2 separate regions of the Homo sapiens genome follow, and region 2 is linked to region 1. Evidence: promoter capture Hi-C in human tissues and cell types (Jung and others, 2019). All regions are on one chromosome and are shown on one strand. The core of a region is centred on a gene start or on the middle of the fragment in contact, and the rest is flanking DNA. Distances in the headings are between cores, read along the strand shown. Region 1 holds the start of MND1 (meiotic nuclear divisions 1). Region 2 overlaps FHDC1 (FH2 domain containing 1).

Evidence for each region. The method cuts DNA at HindIII sites, captures the fragments that hold promoters and counts their contacts. A contact is called where the count stands out against the background at its distance.
Region 2: a fragment that was not itself captured here is called in contact with the fragment with the promoter of MND1 in region 1 in 1 of the 25 tissues and cell types used here (heart left ventricle).

What each region holds. Positions count from the first base shown.
Region 1 is chr4:153,342,483-153,349,681 of GRCh38, forward strand. It overlaps MND1 (meiotic nuclear divisions 1), which reads left to right and starts at 2,206. Exons shown (of 8, transcript NM_032117.4): 1 at 2,206-2,258. The coding sequence starts at 2,256. RefSeq lists silencers at 1,975-2,284, 2,415-2,574 and enhancers at 3,055-3,114, 3,195-3,314. The HindIII fragment of the contact is 8,470 bases long and covers 1-3,740 here.
Region 2 is chr4:152,960,170-152,967,640 of GRCh38, forward strand. FHDC1 (FH2 domain containing 1) reads left to right here. Exons shown (of 12, transcript NM_001371116.1): 5 at 396-481; 6 at 575-675; 7 at 2,645-2,715; 8 at 2,854-2,961; 9 at 4,736-4,806. Among named protein-coding and RNA genes, the nearest start is that of FHDC1, 28 kb to the left of the region's middle. The HindIII fragment of the contact is 5,225 bases long and covers 2,513-7,471 here.

The DNA of each region.
Region 1 (7,199 bases), core at 956-3,455:
CGGTGGCTCACGCCTGTAATCCTAGCACTTTAGGAGGCCAAGGCGGATGGGTCGCCTGAGACTGGGAGATCGAGACCAGCCTGGCCAACATGGTAAAACCCCATCTCTACTAAAAATACAAAGATTAGCCGGGGGTGGTGGTGGGCGCCTATAATCCCAGCTACTCAGGAGGCTGAGGCAAGAGAATCGCTTGAACCTAGGGGTTGGAGGTTGCAGTGAGCCAAAATCATGCCACTTCACTCCAGGCTGGGCAAAAGAGCGAAACCCCAACTCTAAATAAATAAATAAGCTGCTCCTATAGGTCATGCTTTTCAGAATGTCAAGGAAGGGGCATCAGAAGGTTATCTGAAGTTTAAGGTATTTGTACTGAAAATGCAAAGGAACCAGAGGCAGTAGAATGTGTCTTCTTTCCTAGGTGGCGGTGATTCCCAGGTCTGGTTGATCAAGACTGCAATGCACAACAGGAACCTCAGAGAACTGTCACAGCAGCTCTCAGTGACACTTAGGATACAGATGCAGCTTAAGTGACCCTTTTTTATATCCATTTAGCACTCATTTTTCCCAAAAGAAGACCTGTTTGGGTCAATTTGTTACTGTCCCAGGGCAGGCTTTTGCACTGTGTCGCTTTAGAGGCAGGGGCGGAGGAAAACTTGGGACTGTAACATCAGTACTGCACAAAGCCCTCTTCCGTATACAGCATAAGCACTATTCTATAAAATCCCCAGCAAGCCTTTGTTTCCTTGCAGTCAGCTCCTTTTCTGCTGATTCTGCCCATTGCTCCCTTGCAACGTATTTTCATGCTTTCTCTAATGATTCTGCCTTTCTTTACTTACAACTGCCTTGGTAAATTTTTCTGCCACAGCGCCACTGGCCTCAGATAGTCACCACTCACCTGCAACAAGCCTGAGAGCCAATTAAGACAAGGCTTTCCCCAAGTAGCACAAATGTATATACCACTACTGTAGTTACTTAATGTACTCATTTATCATTTTAAAATTACCTTATGTACCATCAGTTACATGGTATAACTCTTACAGGAAAAACCAAATTAATGGAACTCTGCAATTCAATGTACCCCTTCCTCTGCCTCCAGCAGAAGCAACAGGGGACATAAATTCCAACTTTAGATGCTACTCTTATAGCATCTACAAGACTTACTACACTGTGTGTGTGTGTGTGTGTGTGTGTGCGTGCGTGTGTGTGTGTTACAGAGTCTCACTCTGTCGCCCAGGCTGGAGTGCAGTGGCGGGGTCTTGGCTCACTGCAACCTCTGCCTCCTGGGTCCAAGCGATTCTCCTGCCTCAGCCTCCCGAGTAGCTGGGATTGTACAGGCGTCCGCCACCACGCCTGGCTAATTTTTGTATTTTTATTAGAGATGGGATTTCACCATGTTGGCCAGGCTGGTCTCAAACTCCCTACCTCAAGTGATTTGCCCGCCTCGGCCTCCCAAATTGCTGGGATTACAGGTGTGAGCCACAGCGCCCAACCGTACTTCTTACACCTAAAAATGGTTCAAAACACCATAGAATAATTTTCAAAATAATTGAATTCTGAGTTAAAATTTTTCAGCACTTTCAGGGGCCTGAGCTTTTGCTATGAATCTGGATCTATTCTCAAGCCATGAAGTAGCGTATTTTTGACCATGTTGATTTGAAATTCATTCCGTTGTTTCCTTCTTTTTTAAAACCTAAGGGAAAAACAAACAGACATACACAGGATTTGAAAAGCTGGAAAGCAGTGGGTAGCGGCTCGGGAGAAGATGAGGGGTCAGATTAGAAGACGAGAAAGGAATCCAGTCCGCCCCAGACAGGACAAGTCCGGAAGGATGGAGGCAGCGTTTCCTTCCTCAACAGCCTAAACGCCTCTATTTTTTACATCCAAACTTAGGCCATATTTCTGCGGCGCCAAGAAAACGCAGTAAAAGCAAAGGCAAGATGTCCTTAAAAAAAAAAAAGGTCACATTCACAGAATACCGAGGAGACGGAGGCAGCTCTGCAACCCGTCCACTGAGACGCGGACACGCTCCCCACAGCCCCGGCCCCAGGCCCGCGCCCCTTCCCCCGCCGGCGGCTCGGATGGGTCGCTAGGGGTCGCTGCGCGCCGCGCGGGCGAGGACCGGCCTCTTTCCCCCACCTCCACCGTCTCGCTGCTCCGCCCCCGCGGCGTAGTCGGCGCCAAAATCAAACGCGTCCTGGCCTGTCCCGCCCCTCTCCCCAAGCGCGGGCCCGGCCAGCGGAAGCCCCTGCGCCCGCGCCATGGTAAGGACTGAGGCTACGGTCCCGCGTCTTCTTCCTCCCTAGTGTGTGGGCTTCGCCGCCCCTCGGCTGCATGTGGATCCCGGCCTGGCGTTGACCGCCATTCCGGGCCGCGGGAGCGGTCGCCCGGCTCTCGGCCTCACCGTGTAGGGGCCCAGCCCGGCCCCGCCGCAGCCACTCCGCACTCTGCGGCGTTCCCCGCCGCTCCTGTCCGGAGTCCCGAGGCGCGGGGGCATCCGCGGCCTCCCCGCCGGCTGCACCCCGCGTCTGTCCCCAGGGCCCGTTCGGGCGGGTTAGGTTAGAACGCGGGAAGCGTTCGCGAACGTGACCCGAGAACTTCACCAACCTGGATTTATCTAAAAGACCACGGGGCCCTTGAGAACCTGGGCTCCCTACGCCTCCAGCTTCGGCCCCGCGTGGTGTAGCCCCCCCCATTAAGAACGGGGAGAGAAAGCGCAAGTGGGCGGGAGGGACTGCGGGGAGCGAACGTCTTGATCCCAAAGCGCACTCCTGGTTTGTCACCATTGAGTGGTTTTCTGTATTGTAATATGTAGAGCACATTCCAGAACTGCTCAGTTTCGAGTTACCTAATGGATCTTCACTGTGTGCCAATTAGTCGATTTCTGTGAAAACGCCCCGGTTTCTGCCAAAGGGCAGGAGTCGCTGCTCTTGTGCCGGGTGCTGCTGGTTGTGTAGGGCGCTGTTGCTTTTTTAAGGACGCTCTGCACTGAATTAGGCTTCCTCGTGGGTCATGATCAGTTAAGTCCTGGTAAGATCGGCTTTGTGAGCTTAACGTCTTTCTGCTCATCAAATCATTTTCATAAACCTTCAAAGTTTCATGCCGTTTTTTCTGCTTCAGTTGGCGAAGAATCAACATCTGGTTAAATGGATCTAAGATTTTAATATCTTCATTTACTTACGTGGCCGTTAAATGTTGCCGAGCTAAGGGGGGCAGGGTGGGACACCAGGATCCAGTTGTATGGTATTTATTTGAAGATATTTGTCCAGATGTAGTTATAAATGATAACGGCTTCTTTGTGGTTAAACTAACAACCCAGCCACCTGGGCGTGAAGTGCTCTAAGGAGCCAAACAGGACTACAGTTAAAACAAATCTGTTAGCAGTGCCCTTCTGTGTTACAATTTTTCTCTGCAGAGTTGCTGGCCTCGTATAACTGACTTGGAGAACTGTGCAGCTCAAACGCGCGTTGTCCTTTTACCTAATCTATCTCTCTACACATGAATCACCTGCTAATACTAAATGTGTTAACTCTTTAGAAGCTTACCTCCGATAATAGAGAATCCTTTTAAAAAATTAAAGCTTTTGATAAGATGTGGACTTCCTATTTTTTAATATGTGATCGAGAAATAAATTTAGTGTTGGTCAAAGGTAAACTTTTGATTGATTATGAATTAATAGCTGTTTTCATTTGGTTAGGCATCCTAAGTAAATAGTTAATGAGTTCAGGCAATTTTTGAAATTGGAGAAGTGCAGTGCTGAACTCTGAGAGCAGCAGTGATGTCTACTTAATAATTCTTCATAATTTTATCGTAATTGATTAGTAGGGCTGGCTGTAGGAATTCCATAACTTCTAACTGAGAAGGTTCCTCAGATAACATGATTTTTTAAGTGGTTTAAAATACTTCCAGAAAGCTTCATAGTCCTTGAGTCAGGTTTTGAGTCTCCTGACTTACTAATTTGAATGCATCTCTAACTTATACTATCAGGTTTTTCCTAGTCTTAATTAAATATTAGATAAATCCTCATTGATTTTTTTGAGAAGTTTCTAAATATGAGTATTAATATGGCATCTTTTTACATTAGTTATTTTAATTCTGGCTATGATACTCCTACTGTGGTTAATAATAGAAATTATTTCTAGTCATGAAAGAGACTGATGAATAAATCAGCCTGAAAACAAGGTAAATGGATGATACAGCTCATCCACATTTCTTGAGTAACTTTCATAGCTGCTGAGCTGAGTGTTGAGAGCTTTCCTAAAACTGGGTACCCCAGGACGCTAGATTCTCCTCATTGCCTGCCTCTGGGGGGCAGATTCTTGTGGAGTGCAAGGAGCTGTTTCGAATATCAAAATGTTAGGAGTCTTTCCTAACACTTCAGGATCTGCTTTCTGCTAGTGCAGCGACACACTGAAATTCTAAAGGGATTCCCATTGCCCCGCAGCGCCCTTGACATGGCCTTCAGATTCTGGGCTGACAAAAGTAGGGTTCTCAACCCTGGGGCACAATTAAAAAATATGTTGGAGAGGATTTTTAAAATAAGTTGGAGGATTTAAAAAATATGTTGCCCAGGTCCCATTCCAGAGATTTTGATTCCATTCATTAGAGATGAGCCTGGGCATCGGTATTTTTTAAAAACTCCTGAGGTGATTCTAATGTATGGCAGTTTAGGACCTATTGGACTAGAAAAATATGTTGAAGGAGTCTTCTAACTGTTATGAATTTCATGCTTGATTTGTCAGATACTGCAGAGGTGAGAATGAAGGGAGGCAAATAGAGCAGTCCTGGACCCTAGCTCTCAGCCCTAGGTTTAGTGAGCAGATCTGTATGGGTTCCTGGAGTTTGCCTAACTGAGATTTCTCTGATTTGTCTCTTCAAGCCAGGCAATACATGATGTCACTGAATTCACTATGATTAATTCACCTGTTATATCTATGGGAGTATGGTAGGTGTTGGGGGGCTTAGGAGCCTGAGCAGCCTCAAATTTTAGAGTTGGGGGCTTTAGATACATGGTCCTAAAATTAAGAGCTTTATGTCTCCCTTGTCTAACTTGGCACTAAGCCCTGGAAAGGCAAAGGCAGTTCATGTTCTGAAGAAGTTTTTCAGTGTGCTGATACGGACAAGTAAACATCTTTTCAATGTAGTGAGTGATTTGATGAAGGTGTGTTCTGGGAATACATGCTTAGCCTGTGAACTCAGGGAAGTTCTGGAGGGAGAGTGCCTAAACTAAGCCTTGGGAGATGTTTTGGAGTTTTGACTAGGCAAGAAGTGAGGATGTTCTAGGTGGAGGAACATTTTTTTTAAGGATGGAAATGAGAGCATTCTTCGAGTAGATAATTACAGGCAGTTTTTGTATTACAAGTTGCTTAGGTCTCCATACTGTTAATGGCAAAGTTTGAGGTGGGGTGTGGTGGAAGAGGCTATAAAAGGTAGGTTGGGGTTAGGTGATAAAGGGCCTTGTATATCATACTGGGGTACTCAGAAACGTCTGGATGTCTGGGAGCCACTGGAGGGTTTTGAGCAAGGCAGGGAAAAAGGTCTTATTTATGTTTTCCCAGTGCGGAATGTGAACATAGAGGGTGAGTCAAAGTGTGGTTAGGGGACTGGAGGTATATTGCAGGAGATAGATGATGAAGGCCTGAATGAGGCAGTGGTAGTAGAGATAGAACAGACAGGACAGATAAGAGAAATAATTAAATGCTGAAACTGGCAGAACTTGGTGATTGGTTGGATGTGAGATAAGGAGGTGAAGGTACCTAGGATGACTGTCAGGCCTCTGGCTTGGGTCACGAGATAGTATCTGAGACTCAAGGTCTAGAACAGCAAGTTTGTGGGGAGTAGGTATGAGAGAGGAAGAGTTCAGTTTAGACTGACGGAGTTGAAGTTTGTCCAGCAGGCGGGTAGATGCATGACACTGAAGCTCAGGAGCACACCCAGGGGTGAATGTAAAGATTTGAGGTCTCAGCATAAGTGTTAATTAAAACCATGAAAGCAAATGAGATCAAAGATAAGATATTAGGAGATGGGATCAGTAGCCAAACCCAGCAGAAAAACAGTGTTTGAAAGTGGACCGAGGAAGAAGAGAAAAATATAAACTTTAAGCTATTTATTTACCCATATTACTCATCAAGAAACACCTGATCATTTTATTCCTGTGGGAATGAGTTAGTGGGTTGTTGTTTTTTTTTGTGTGTGTGGGCTTTGTTTTGTTTTGTTTTGAGACAGTGTCTTGCTTTGTTGCCCAGGCTGGTCTCAAACTCCCAGCCTCAAGTGATCCTCCAGCCTCAGCCTCCCAAAGTGCTGGGATTACAGGTGTGAGCCACCGCCCAGCCAAGTTAGTGGGTTTCTAGGTTTTACAAGAATTAAGACTCACTCACTCCAGTATGTAGCCAGAATGGCAATTCCAAATCCTTGTCTTCACTTATGTAAACTCACGTTTTCTGATGATGTTTTTGGTTGGATGGGGCAGTCTTTAACTGTTGTTTTATGTCTGCTTTTTAAGCAAACAATTTATATTCCTTTATAATCCCCTACAATTTTTGAGAAAGATGCAGATCACATAAGAAATATTAGTGTGGAGTTTTTTTATTAGAGAACTGGAGGTGATAGTTCTCACTCTTTTTTTTTTTTTTTTCTGTAAACCTTTGGTTTGGAGGAAATTTGGCTCCTTTCTCTTTTAACTTAGGATTTAGCTTTATATATTCTATGTACAATATATTGTAAAATTTATTATTAACATATATTTCAGCTACATATTGTCTTAATTTCAAGTTGGCTAAAGGGTATTACAGAAGAATAACCTGAGTGGGCTTCCATTTTCTACTTGGATAGGCCTTTCCCCCTTCCATCTTCTCTTCCACATTGCTGCTATAATTAACTTAACGAAAATGCAACTCTAATCTTGTCACTAGTCTGCTTTAGAAATTACTCAGCAGCTCCTCATTGTCTAGAATGAAGTCCACTGTCAGCTGGACAGTCAGCTTTCCATAACCTGACCCCACACCTTTCTCATCCCATCTGCCAATCCCCCTACATACTTCATACAATAACTGTCCCCCACTGCTTATCCTTCTGGGGAATTCCATGTACTTCCATAACATTGTGCCTGTGTGTGGTCTCCCCAAGATGTGCTTCTAACCATTTCTCAATTTGCCAAAATCCTTTTAATCTCTGTCCTTAGGTAACCCTTCTTCCTCTGCATAGTG
Region 2 (7,471 bases), core at 3,875-6,374, 380 kb before region 1:
CTCTACAGTCTTTTATTTCTTCTCCCAATGATCTCATTTCCAGATTATTGCTTACAGAAAATTTTCATCCTTAGAACTGATTCCTTTTTAGTCCCTCCCTTTTGTAACCTTCCTGAGGATTCTGCTGGCTCCAGCTCTCCAGTTTACACGAGACTGTGTATCTATAGCTACATAAGTGACGCTAGCTCTTTGCTTTCAAATTTGTGAGTTTGTATTTTTCTTTTAAAAAAACCAAATAGCAGATGGGAGGATTTCCTTTTTTGTCTTTTCTAAATTAATTTGAATTTAGCACTAAAATCCTATTTTTTTAGAAGAATTGGAAGATGAAATTTAAATAATCTTAAATTGTATTCGTAAGTGATTTTATATACCCCCCCTTTCCATTTGTCTTTTAGGTAAAGAAGTTAAAAGCGTTTAGTGGCGACGTGTCGAAGCTGTCTCTGGCAGATTCCTTTCTGTATGGCTTAATTCAGGTGCCAAAGTAAGGATACAGTCGCTGGTTATTATTCTTCACGCAGTAAGATTTTTAAACTAATGACATCAAATTCTACAGTTTTACTTTTTTATTTTTCAGCTATTCACTTCGGATTGAAGCCATGGTGCTAAAGAAGGAATTTCTACCTTCTTGCTCTTCTCTATATACAGATATAACAGTTTTAAGAACTGCTATAAAAGGTGAGTCAACATATGATCCTTCGCAGAATTTGTTTTTATTAATTTCGATAGCAGTTTTTTAAAAAAGCCAAATGAAATTGGACATGGAAAGTCCTGAATTTCTGATATACCCTTAAAAGGGAAATGAGATGTTACTAGGGATGCACTTAAGGTTGATTTCCATTGACATTTTTCCCCTGTAATGAATGTTAATTTACATATTACCCTCCCACAGAAGGGAATTTCTTTCATCTCAGGCTTCAGAGTCAACCTTGCTGGTTACGGCTTGCTCTTGTTTCTCTCCTGGATGAGCTTTCTCTGTGTATGTTGGTATGTGGTGTGTGCATGTGTGGTGTGGGCTGTGCACGTACACAAAGCCCGGGCCCCTGGCCCAGCTGCCTCTCTCCTCCCTGTCGTGGCCTCTTGGTGGCTGGGACCCAGCCTTTCCAGAAGCAGACCTCTTTTCCTGGGGTCAACCGTGTGACTCTTCTGCCAGGGTTCCTGACGTTTCTGTTCTGTGGTGTCGTCTCCCACTCCTCCATACTCCAATTTCTGCTGAGCTATTTAAATTTGAGAGGGGCAGATAGGCCATTTTCATTTATTTGAAAAACTCTTTAAATTCTTGCCTGCCCAGCTTGGATAGCCTCTTCTCAGAGCTGCCCTGCCGTCTCCTTCCGGAGGGGTGGGAGCTTTGGTTTCTGGCATCTTGGCACTGAGAATCCCGGCGGAGTTGCAGCTGGCTTCTTTTCAGCTCGGGGCCATATTCTCTGGCCCTCCCTGACCTTCACACTTTTCAGCATGCGTCAGTGCCAGCCTGATTTCCTTTTGGTCATTTTCTGGATTTCTAGTTATTGTTTTAGAATTGTTTATTCCTATTTGGTTTTCCTGTTTACTTGCTCTGGCCTGTTTTGAGATAAAATTTTTCTCTTTGGTCCATCGTATTTTCTTCATTTTAGAGAGGAGACTAAGAAGGAAAAAGATTTTTAAAAATTTCAACATAGAGGCCTTTAAACTTTTTTTCCATACACACTATTGCAGCGACTTTGGAAGGTTTGTTCTGGAAGAATGTGTTTTTATATTGAGCAATGCAAACTTGTGGGCATGGTAGAAACATTTCTTATCTGGTCATCCTTCCAAAACTGGCCTTCTTAGATAACACAATATAGGCAGTGATCCAACTGTAATTTTTTGAAAGTATTACCAGACTTAATGGAGAATATTAACTTAAAAATGTCAGTGACATTTTATTATTTGATAGTATAATTTTAATAAGTTTTCTTTTTACCTTTCTAAATGTATTAAAAATTTTAAATTTTGTTTCTTTGCATGGGTGTACAAAGGATTTGGTGTTAATAAAGAACTAGTTTACCAATATATTACAATGATAAGTTTCTTTCTAAAACTTTCAGCCAATCCAAATGAAATGTGTGGCTTTGAATAAAATGAAAAGATTCCCTGGATGCCTGGGCCCTCGCGGTTTGTGCTTTGCAAGTTATTTACATGTTCTCCCAGCTTGTTTATTTTTTATCTCTTCATAACTCATTGACTAAGCAAAACGTTGCTTGCTGTTAGTTTTCATATTCCATAAATGCGGTCTCTTTGAGACTGCATACTCAAAGAGTAGTGGATATACAAGGAAAAATTAAATAACTGCTGAGAAGGAAGTTAACTCCTATCTCACGGGATACTGCTTTGCATTAGGCTTTTGCATTTTTCACTAATTGAAAATTTTTATTATTGAACTATTTTGTGCTATTTAACTATCATACCTATTTGATTTCCAAGTAAACACTATGACACGGATTGCCGGTAGCAAATGATGTGTTAGGTATCCCATAGAATGTATTGCTTTGTTTGTTTTTTCCGTTTTATATACAGTTTAAGGTCACAGTTTGCTTCAGATACACTTGAACTTGGATGTGGTAGCTGTCTTTTGTGCATTTGAAACTGAAGGCATCTCTAAGGTGCTGTGATGTGTTCTTTTTGATAGAACTGATGTCATGTGAAGAGCTACATTCAATATTACACTTGGTGCTCCAGGCTGGGAATATCATGAATGCAGTAAGTAAAATCCAAAACAATTGTAATGTTATGTTTTCAACCTTGTCTATCTAAAGGTGTGTGTGTGTGTGTGTGTGTGTGTGTGTGTGTGTGTGTGTATGTATACATAATTTTTTCTTTTTGATTTGTCTTCTTTAGGGAGGGTATGCCGGCAATGCAGTAGGATTTAAACTGTCTTCTTTGCTCAAATTGGCAGACACAAAAGCAAACAAACCTGGGATGAATCTCCTGCACTTTGTTGCACAGGTATGTGGAAATGATTAGGACTTAGAGAACGCATATGAATACCCCTTGGAGGCAGTGAAGTTTTTCCCAGGCATAAGATGGTGTCCAGCAGGGTTAGGAAAGGGCATGGCAAGTTCCAAGATGGTTCTGTTTGTAGAAGCGCCATTAGCAGATTCCTGAGTTGTACTGCACCCAGGGCTATAGGGCTGAAGGGAAGTGGGAGAGTGAAGCAGAGAGGCTGGTGAAGCCAGCTATGAAGGATTTAAGTGTCAAAGGTGGGGAATTTGGATTTCATGCTTTAGCAGTGGGGAACCAACAGGAGTTTGTGCACAGTGTAATAGCTTGACTGGATCTCTTTTGTTTTTGTTTTTAGGCAAATAAGGCACTGTGGAGGCTGGGTTAGAGTAGAGAAAGAACTAGAAATAGGAATACACCTCCGCAGAAGTTGGCTGTAATTGTTTGGTGAGCGTTGAGGGGGAGGGTAATGGTCATAGGGACAGAGAATAGAGGATGGAGGATTGAAATTTTCTGATGTGGAATTGACTAGATTTGTGACCAGTTATGTGTAGAAAGGTCACTTCTGTCTTTCTCCGTGAACCATGCATTTGAGCACCATGCTGCTAGCACAGGGTTTGGAGTCTGATCCTATCCATTGCTTTGTTTTTTTTTTTTTTTTTTTTTTTTTTTTTTTTTTGACTGGATCTCTATAACACCAAAAAAGTGAGGAACAAAGTGGAAAATCAAGGACAGTTATATCTTTGTTTTGAAATGATCTCAGCTAATGGAACTGATTGGCTTTTCCTCCATTGAATCACTCAGTTGTTTTGACATCAGTGCTGTAGTCGTAGCTTTAACCTGGGGAGGAAGCCGTGGTGCAGTCTTGTTTTGAATGTGAGCTTCAGAACAGGACAGGACTGGGAGATTTTGACTGTCCTTTGCTAGCTCTACTTCCTCAGGCAAGTTATTTAAACCTGAAGACCCTCAATTTCTTCATCTAATGGTGAGAGTAGTGATAACTTACCCCAAAACTAGGTAATTGAGAGTGCTGAAGGAGCTGACTCCATAAAGTGCTTATCTCAATGTTTGGCCTATGGTGAGCTCTCCATAAATAACCATACACACTATTATTACTATATTCTTCAGAAGACAAAGGGCCATGTTTAGCTTGGGACTTAATTGAAAGGTTAATTTTCAGGCATTAAAAGAAGAAAATGTGTTCCTTGCCCAGCAAGGGTCGTGGATAGTATTCGGGCAAAGCTCTCCTGAATCCAAGTGTCCAGGCCCTCTGGGTAACTTGGTCTCTGTCCATGTGGCGAAGCCTCCTGGGTCAGTCATTGCTTCCTTCCCACTTGCCTTCCTCTCACCTCCTGAACAGGTGAAGAATCCAAACACTGCCATGGCTCCTGTACCTTCTGATTAAACTCTGTTTGCAAACTGGTTTAACAGCTGAAGGTATCTCGCTCATTTAAAGGCATGCTCACAGGTATGGGTGGTATTTAAGCAGGATATATTGGATTCTTTCAGAAACAAGGGGCCCTGCTGAGCTGCAGCCAAATGCTCATTAATTGTATTTTGTGTCAAGATCAATTGCTCTGGAAAGGTAAATGTATCTTGAGAGTAGGAGAGTTCTAGCAAATCTTACTAAGAGTATCAGAGTTCATGTCTCAGTGAAATGCTTTGAATGTGTCAAGTTTAAAAACAGGAGCAGTGATTTTAAGATTCCTTTAAGCCCTAAGAAAATTATTTCCTTCCAGTTTTATCAACATAGTGAGATAAAATTCTGTTTTTGTTCCAGGAAGCCCAAAAGAAAGATACCATTCTTCTAAACTTTTCAGAAAAATTGCATCATGTTCAGAAGACTGCTAGGTGAGCAAGTGAATTGTGAGAATTCAAGATTCTTTACCTTTTTATGAAAACTGATAAATAGTTAAAACTTTTAGATTCCAGTTTGAAGTCTAAAAGGTTTTGTTTCATTGAACTTTCAGACTGTCCTTCATTTGCTTAACACAGGTGTGTGTGCACCTTTGGAATTTGGGGGTTTTGAAAAATTAATCTTTATTTGTAAACTAAAGAAACTATTTCAGTCTATTCTAATGAATATCATCAGTATAAAAAATATGGATTAATAATTTCAAATCCCTCCACGCCCAAGAGATAGAGCTTAAACAGCACCACCTATTTCCTTGGGAGTTGGTATATATCAATCAAACTTTCATGGCCACATTTCACTGTTTCCTTGTAGAATCTAACATGGTACATTTATTTTCCTTTGCATTAAAAGAGTTTGTAACCGTACCAAGAGCTGTGAAATGATTTTACTTTAAATTAGTCACTCACAGAGAAAGGCACATACAGAGAAAGTATCTGCCAAACATAAGGCTCTAATTACATCACTCTAATTTGCTTCTGATCCTAATGTAGATATGTATCTTAATGTAGCTAGACTCTGTGTGTATATACTATTTTGACTTTTGTATATGTGTTTTAAAATTTATATTACATCCACACATCCCACGGTAAATGTTCAATAACCAGCTGTTGGAGAAAAAAGTCCTGATTTGTAGCATTTGCTGATTTCCGTGTTGTAAATACCGTAACCATGGCTGATGTCAAGCTGCTGACATACATTACTGAATGCAAATTAGGAAGAGACACCCACAGTTGGTTCTCATGAGCAGGTTCAGCCACCGCTCATGTGTCAAGCCAGTTCCTAGCATATACTTACTGAGTGTATCCAACTATGACATCTGTGAACCATATGCATATAAATAAATGAACCATAGCTCACAGCCCTGCCACTGGCCTGTACCTCAAAAGTTACTGATTCTATGAATATCTAGCCACAGATTACATGTCTTTCCCAAAGTGGGATTATCAGTTCAGAGGTGTAAACAGTTTATAATTCATGTTTACAGATCTCTAGATTGTTCTCTAAAAAGAATGGACATCTTATAAGATAGGAACTTTTGACTTACTGAAAGAAATTTGTGTGGGAACATTTTTACTGTAATTAGTATAAAAATATTCCTAAGAGATATATAGATAGAAATTAGCATTATATTTTTGAAATGGCGTTTCTGGTCAGAGCTGGATTGGAGCTAGATATTGTCTTAGAAAAATCCTATTCAGCAAGCTTGTTTATTTGAAATGGAAGGTGAAATACACTTGGGAAATACAAACAGGTCTCAGATATGTGCCGGTGACCAGTGAAGGTGGAAAACTTTATTGCACAAAGAAACATTTGAATTGACAATGGAAGCATGAATGCATCCTAATTTATGAATTTCACATGCATTTTAGGTTTCGCCTACTCAGTTTTCTGGGTAACAAAACCATCATTCACATTCTGCCTATCTTTTGTTTTTTTTGAGATAGAGCCTCGCTGTGTCACCCAGGCTGGAGTTCAGTGGTGCAATCTTGGCTCATTGTAATCTCTGCCTCCTGGGTTCAAGTGATTCTCCTGCATCGGCCTCCCAAGTAGCTGGGACTACAGGCACCCGCCACCATGCCCAGTTAATTTTTTTGTATTTTTAGTAGAGACAGGGTTTCACCATACTGGCCAGGCTGGTCTCGAACTTCTGACCTTAGGTGATCTGCCCGCCCCACCCTCTCAAAGTGCTGGGATTACAGGCCTGAGCTACCATGCCAGGCCCACATTCTGCCTATCTTGATTTGATGTATATAACAAAAGCATTGCAATCAATCCAACTGTTAATTTGCAGAATTAGGGCTGGCTGTGGTGGCTCATGCCTGTGATCCCAGCACTTTGGGAGGCCAAGGCAGGAAGACTGCTTGAGACCAGTAGTTTGAGACCAGTCTGGGCAACATAGTAAGACCCTGTCTCTACAAAAAATTTAAAAATTAGCTGGGTGTGGTGGCGCACACCTGTGATCCCAATTACTTGGAAGGCTGTGGTGAGAGGATCACCTGAGCCCAGGAGGTCAGTGCTGCAGTGAGCCATGATCTTGCCACTGCTCTTCAGCTTGGGCAACAGAGTGAGACTGTCTCTTTAAATAATAATAATAATAAAAATCAGCTGGGCCTGGTGGCTCACACCTGTAATCCTAGCACTTTGGGAGGCTGAGGTGGGCAGATCATTTGAGCTCAGGGGTTCTAGACCAGCCTGGCCAACATGGCGAAACCCCGTCTCCACTAAAAATACAAAAATTAAGCTGGGCATGATGGCACATGCCTATAATCCCAACTACTCTGGAGGCTGAGGCATGAGAATTGCTTGAACCCAGGAGGCAGAGGTTGCAGTGAGCCAAGATCAGGCCACTGCAATCCAGCCTGAGTGACAGAGGGAGATTGTGTCTCAAAAAAAAAAAAGTTGCACATTTGTTAGCTATGTTTTAGTTCTCTGTAAAATATAGAAAGCCTGCTCTGGCCACCTGTGGAATCTGCTATTTTCATGGAATCTGCTATTTTCTCACTGTTACCCTTAGTGTTAGAATTATCAACATATATTGCCTTGCTTCTTGTGGGTTAGAGTTTCCTATTTGTGTTTAGTGGCCCATGGAAAGCATATGAA